2 separate regions of the Homo sapiens genome follow, and region 1 is linked to region 2. Evidence: promoter capture Hi-C in 16 types of primary human blood cells and fetal thymus (Javierre and others, 2016). All regions are on one chromosome and are shown on one strand. Each heading gives the region's core, a stretch centred on a gene start or on the middle of the fragment in contact. The rest is flanking DNA. Distances are from core to core; before and after follow the strand shown.

Evidence for each region. Contacts are between HindIII fragments. The CHiCAGO score rates a contact against its expected background, and 5 or more counts as called.
Region 1: a contact is called between the fragment with the promoter of C17orf99 here and a fragment that was not itself captured in region 2, in 1 of 17 cell types (total B cells). The highest score is 5.8, in total B cells.

Annotation. Positions count from the first base shown.
Region 1 is chr17:78,144,640-78,147,993 of GRCh38, forward strand. It overlaps C17orf99 (chromosome 17 open reading frame 99), which reads left to right and starts at 1,746. Exons shown (of 5, transcript NM_001163075.2): 1 at 1,746-1,805; 2 at 2,240-2,272. The coding sequence starts at 1,769. RefSeq lists an enhancer at 2,769-2,988. The HindIII fragment of the contact is 9,063 bases long and covers 1-3,354 here.
Region 2 is chr17:78,178,183-78,181,721 of GRCh38, forward strand. All of the region lies in intron 4 of TK1 (thymidine kinase 1), which reads right to left. Among named protein-coding and RNA genes, the nearest start is that of TK1, 7.1 kb to the right of the region's middle. The HindIII fragment of the contact is 1,624 bases long and covers 1,026-2,649 here.

The DNA of each region.
Region 1 (3,354 bases), core at 496-2,995, 34 kb before region 2:
ACAGAGAGGCCGGTGGGTGCACAGGAGGCAGCCTCCATCCCCGGGACCATGGGTAGCAAGGTGCAGAAACGGACTCATGCCAGCTGGGAGAGGGGGCCACCGAGGGGTCAACAGAGCCAGTCTGCAGTGACCTCCAGGACACCTGCACCTGCCTCCCCACCATCCTTCTGGCCACTCCCTGGTCAGCAGGGCCACTCCCTCAGACCAGCTTCCCAACACACCCAGGCCTCCGGTGCAGCAAGTGCCTGGGAAAGGCTGAGAGGAGAGCTGGGCCGGGGCTGTGAGTGGCCTCCCTTGGTCAGGTGTTCACTCCTGGACGGTGCCCAGGGGCAGAGAGTGTGATTGACCGGTCAGGAGCCACAGGTGGCAGCAGCTCCCACAGGAGGCAATGGTCACCTGGTGGCAGGGGACATATTCCTGAAGGAGGCAGCCAGAAAAGGCATTCCCCACACAAAGTGTGGGAAACTGAGCCGGGCCAGAAAGTGACAGGCTGGTCCAGCAGCCCCAGGCTGAGCTTGGGCACAAAGCCGGGTGCAGTGGCCCACAGCGGAGCTGGCAGGGCCCCAGCCTCAATCCCTTGCGCCCTTACATCTCTCTGTGTTCCGGGGAATGCCTGGCCCCAGCCCTGGCCTCGGGGCTCTGGGAGGCCCTGCTCACCCCCACCCTCCCTGCATGTGCAGGAGGCTCTGTGGCTGAACTCTGCACACACACTGCCTGCGATGCAGCTGGGTCTGCTGCTGGCCAAGGCCAGCACTGGGGCCAGTTCCCTGGGGAATGACCATCCATGTGACCTCCCACCACCCTCAGTGGGGCCTGAGGGACTTCTGAAGGGCGGTGCTTGGGCACACCACGCTCCGGGACCCAGGACTCCAGGACCCATCACACTCCAGGACCAGGGGCCTCGTCGGTCTGGGGTTTCATTCTGGGGCTGGGTGCAGCCTTGGCCTCCCGGCTGTGAACCATCATGGGTGGGGCTGCCTTTTCTCAGCCCAGCAGGTCCCCAGCTGCTTGGAAAGGCCCCAGTGATTACATGAGGGTCACCTGGGTCATGTAGGACGGGCTCCTCCTCTCAAAATGAGAAGACTCACAGCCTTCATTCCCCTTGCCGCGTAGCATGGTGCTCACGGGCTCCAGAAGTTACAGCGTGGACATCTTTTTTTTTTTTTTTTTTTTTGAGATGGAATCTCACTCTGTTGCCCAGGCTGGAGTGCAGTAGCGTGATCTTGGCTCACTGCAACCTCCGCCTCCTGGGTTCAAGCAATTCTCCTGCCTCAGTCTCCCGAGTAGCTGGGATTACAGGCGCACGCCACCACGCCCGGCTGATTTTTAGTAGAGATGGAGTTTCGCCATGTTGGCCAGGCTGGTCTCGAACTCCTGACCTCAGGTGATCCGCCCATCCAGGCCTCCCAAAGTGCTGGGATTACAGGTGTGAGCCACTGTGCCCCGCGGAGCATGGACACCTTCTGCCCACCACGTGAGCCCGGGATCCTGCGGCTCAGAGGTGACTGCTGAGTCTAAGCCCTGGTCTGGCTTCAAGGTCCAAACTCCTTCCACTTCTCTGGGGATTGAGGGGGAGTTTGCTGTACCGGGCCTGCCGGGGCTCTCTGGGCCCCGCCCTGGTAGCTGAGGCCCTGGGGTGCTGCGGCCTCCAGGTTATCTCCCCACTGCAGGCACCCACCCAGGGAGCATCCCAGGGGCCTCAGGGTGGGGGAGGCCAGGAACTAGGAGGTTCTCACTGCCCGAGCAGAGGCCCTACACCCACCGAGGCATGGGGCTCCCTGGGCTGTTCTGCTTGGCCGTGCTGGGTGAGTCCACCAGGGACGTGATGGTGGGGCTGCTGCTGGGGCCTTGAGGTCTTGGGCTCAGGTGGGGGTACTGGGAGCACAGGAGAGATGAGGCCTGAAGGAAGGGCACCTCTGGAAACATGGACAGAGAGGGAAAGATCTGGGCTTGAGTCTCGGACCAGCCCCTAAACTTGCTGTATATGTGGTCCAGGGATTTCTGCACCATTCTGGGCTCACTACTTACCCATCTGCGAAATGGGCGGATGAGAGGCGATGTTGTGGGGGGAGGGGCGCAAAAGAGCTTTTGTGAGTGATGGTGCCAGCTGAGTCCTGGGGCCTCACTACCAAGAATCAGCCTGCTCCTCCCTCCTGGCTTCAGCAGGTGGGTCTCGAGGCTGTCTCTGGTCTCCCCTCCACACCAGGCCCTCTCCTTATCGCCCTTACCTCTCTTACAGCTGCCAGCAGCTTCTCCAAGGCACGGGAGGAAGGTAAGTGGCATAGCCTGCTGCAGGGAGAAGTCCCCCAGCTGGGACCCTGGTGTCAGAACCCCCATGGTGGAGGGCGCCTCGGCTGGGAAGGGAGTTACTAGTGGGGAGGTGTGTGCTGGAGGATGGCTGGACAGTTCTGGAACACTCTCTTCACCCTGCAGGGCCCTAGGAGTGATGGAGATGGGCAGGCCAAGCAGGCCAGTGTGGGGACCTCCGGGGCACACAGGCAGGGAAGTTGCTCAGCTTCCAGCCTTTGGCTGGGCTGTTTGGAGGGAAGATTCCCTGGGCAGGTGCATCCTCATCACTCTGCCCCAGGTCCCTGATCGGGAGCAGAAGCCCCCCCTGAGACCCTCACAGCTCTGCCCGGTGGGCGAGGCCCCGTGGAGGGCTGGGGAATTCTGGTGGGGCCTGGGAGGTTGGGATTCTCTGACCAGGAGGAGGGCCGTGAGAGGATGGTGAAGTTAAGGCTCCCCCAGGGGCCTGACATACACGAGGCTGCCTTCCTTATAGAGGCAGGTGGGGAGTGGAGAGTGTCTGGGACCCAGCTGGGTACAGGACCAGGGAGGAGGGGACGCTGGGGAAGGTCCCTGACAGCCCCTAGCCTGGCCTGCTTCCTCATCTTTGCCTGCTCCATCTTTCTGCCTGCACTTTCTTGCCCCATCCTTCCCTCCCCTCCCCTCATGTCCATTAAGGTGAGGATGGACAGTCACCTCCCTATATTGTCCCAACTAACCCTTGCCCCTTGTTGCTAGGCCATCAGGTTACAGAGCAGGGCCTTCCCCCTCTATTTTGCTAAAGGGCAGGTACAGGGTAATGATGACGCCATTCTCACTTGAATGAGGCCCAGGTTGAACCATTATTTCCTCATTTGCTTTAAAAACGGATACATTGTTGGTGTGGCTGCTAAAAAGAGAGCAGGCAGCTGGGGCTCCGGGAAGTACCTGTGCAGGGCAGTTCCGCCTCCCCCTCTTGGCTGGCTCCCGACTTCTCTGATTCTTGCCAACCAAGTCCTGCTAACTAAACTCCTAAGAGACTGACTGATAAATCATTTATTCATTCAACAAATACTTGAGCACCTGTTT
Region 2 (3,539 bases), core at 588-3,087:
TAAAAAAATAAATCAGAGCTCCTACTATTGCCAAGCGACCCTGCAAGCCCACCACACACTGTGCAGCTGTTGATGCAAGGGTGCCCACCCACCACCAGCATCTGAAGCACAGCACCCCCAGCTAGGAGCTTCAGGTTTTCCAGAGATTTCCAGGTGAGTCTCTCTTGGATGCCAACAGTTTCTACAGAGCAGTGTGAGCACCTGTGTGTCTCGCCCGGGGTACAAAGAAGCACAGAAGCTTCTGACCCAGGGCCTTCCTCAGGATGGCACGGTGGCTACTCTGTGAAAGGCTTTCCCTGCTGACCCAGAAAACGGGAACAAGGCAGGTTCGGCTGGGCTTCATCCACTGTCCACGTAGACAATGAAGGAGCGAAGGACAGTCCTTCTGCTGGGTCCCATGCTAGGAACCCCTCTCCTCGATCTAGAACTGCTTGCAATGGGAAGACCCTGAACTTCTTTTGTTTTGTTTTGTTTTGAGACTGAGTTTTGCTCTTGTTGTTGCCCAGGCTTGGAGTGCAATGGGGCGATCTTGGCTCACTGCAACCTTCGCCTACCGGGTTCAAGCGATTCTCCTGCCTCAGCCTCCCAAGTAGCTGGGATTACAGGCATGCGCCACCACGCCTGGCTAATTTTTGTATTTTTAGTAGAGACGGAGTTTCTCCATGTTGGTCAGGCTGGTGACCCGGAACTTCTTGAAGAGAACAAGGGCACACAGAGGCCAGGGCAGAATGCTGATGTCTGGGTAGGGTGTAATAAATACTCACTGAATGAACTCAAGTTTTACTTGCTGGCCAGGGAGGAAGTAGACCGAGAAATCCCTCCTATAGGCTGAACAGGGGACAGGACTTCATACGCTGGCTCCTGACTCAGGGCATTTGGATGTCGAGGAAGGAGAAGGGAAAGGTTTCTGCCTCGGGGGTCTGGGTCAGCCTCTGTCAACAAGGTTTACGCAGAGCCAGGAGAACAGAGCTATTGAACAACTCACAGCGGCAGGTCTGAAGGAGGGAGAGCCTTGCCAAAGCTGAAGCTTCCTTGTTCTGAGAGGGCCATGTCCCCAAAGCTGATGCAAAATCCCTGGATGCATTCTGAGGCCACAGTTTGGGAGCAAAAGAGAACAGCTGCAGCCCTATTCCCAGCCTGGGCTCACTTTCTCGCCAGGAGTCCCTCAAGCACGGGGCAGCAACAACGACGTCTCCACGTACGCAGAGGCATGGGGGTGCTCAGGGGCGCACCTCTGAAGGTCAGAAACGGAATGGCCATACCCAAGCGGGGAGGAGATGCCAGCTGCCGGGTGGTCGGGAACCCAGAGCGGACACTGGCAGCCTCAACTCCACAGGGCAGATGCCCCGCACAGGGGAAGGGACCCGTCAGCCTCCCCACGGGAATGGAATTTGCAGCTGTGACTCATACAGAATGTTGGGCAAGAACAGAACCAGGAAGGCAGGACTGGCCTTTTGAGGGGACAGGCCCTGTGACGTCCGGGCAGGGTATTCAGGCCAGAGCGGCCTGGCTCTGTGCTGGGAGGCAGGGCGGGTAGAGACCTCGAAGCACTCACCAAACCAACTCATTTATTCTTCCTCCAGGGTATAGAACTAGACTAAGTGTGGCCAGGCGTGGTGGCTCACGCCTGTAATCCCAGCACTTTGGGAGGCTGAGGCAGGCAGATCACCTGAGGTTAGGAGTTCCAGACCAGCCCGGTCAACATGATGAAACCCCGTCTCTACTAAAAATACAAAAGGTTAGCTGGGCATGGTGGCAGAAGCCTGTAATCCCAGCTACTCAGGAGGCTGAGGCGGGAGAATCACTTGAACCTGGGAGATGGAGGTTATAGTGAGCCGAGACTGCGCCACTGCACTCCAGCCTGGGCCACAGAGCAAGACTGTTTTTAAAAACAAACAAAAAACGAACTGGACTAAGTATACTAAACGTATAGGTGGCCCTGTGCCCAGGTTCTAGTCTTTGAAAGATCAGCAGAAGTGACGTTTGCAGCTTCTGGTCAGGCCCATGAAAACCTCACACCCAGGGGCTCCGCCACGTCTCTTCCCCTCCGTGTCTGTATACAGCCAGCCAGGGCGACCTAAGCCGCCTCGTGGGCGGCCTCCCCATCAACCGGCCTGGAACCACGTAGGGGGTCTGTGAGCGAGAAATAAATTCCTGTTATGTTTATATCAAACCACCACATTGTGTACTTCGAGGCAACCCTAAAAGTACCTAAGAGGTCAAGTCTGCTAAACCCCTTGGAGAGAGTTTCAGTTTCATTCTTTGTGATAAACTAACAAAAATAAAATCTCCAAAGCAGAGGAAAGAAAACTAAGATAACAGAAAATAACCCAGAAACTCAACCACAGAATATGTTCCTGAGGAAATAGAAAAATCTGGAAAAGTCTAAGAAAAGATTTTCAGGAACATAATGGAAGGAACAGCATAAATTTAAAAATAACCCAACAGTAACTTGTCAAACAAAACGGAGCATGATGAATTAGAGCAGCAGATGTAAAAATAGTCACTGAAACAAAACACACTCTGGAAGATGGAACCCAGAACACCTCAGAGATGGATGAGGAGAGAAATACCTGAAGTGATAATGGCTTCATTCCTTCCCCAGAAATGAAAAGGCACACCAGCTATAAAGCAGGATAAATGAAACAAAGCTTCCCCTACACACATTGTGCTGAGAGAGAACAGATAGAATACCTGACCAGAGGTAACATTAGAGAGATGGCGGCCTTCCTCTGAGCAAAAACACAATGACCAGCGCTGCTACTTTTCAAAGCAACAAGATCAAGACCAGGCGTGGTGGCTCACGCCTGTAATCCCAGCACTTTGGGAGCTGAGGCATGCGGATCACCTGAGGTCAGGAGTTCCAGACCAGCTGGCCAACATGGTGAAACCCCATCTCTATTAAAAATACATAAATGAGCTACGCATGGTGGCACGCACCTGTGATCCCAGCTACCCGGAAGGATGAGGCAGAACTGCTTGAACCCAAAAGGCGGAGGTTGCTGTGAGCTAAGATCACGTCACTCCACTCCAGCCAGGGCAACAGAGCAAGACTCCATCTCAAAAAAAATAAAAATTAAAAAGGCCGGGCACGGCGGCTCATGCCTGTAATTCCAACACTTTGGGAAGCCAAGGCGGGTGGATCACCTGAGGTCAGGAGTTCAAGACCAGCCTAGCCAACATGGTGAACCCTTGTCTCTACAAAAATTAGCCAGGCATGATGGTGGGTGCCTGTAATCCCACCTACTTGGGAGGCGAGGTGGGAAAATCGCTTGAATCCGGGTGGCAGAGGTTGCAGTGAGCCGAGATCACGCCATTGCACTCCAGCCTGGGCGACAGAGTAAGACTCCGTCTCAAAAAAAAAAAAAAAACCCAAACCCACACAAGATCAACCTACCTCTTGCTGCCCAGCTTAAACTAGATGACAAAAGAAAGATTTCCATACAAAGACTGGCAGCTTCCCATCTATACCTCCTGGCTGCAAAAACTACTAAAAAAGGTACTTCAACAACAAGAAAATAAACGTATAAGAAACAAGC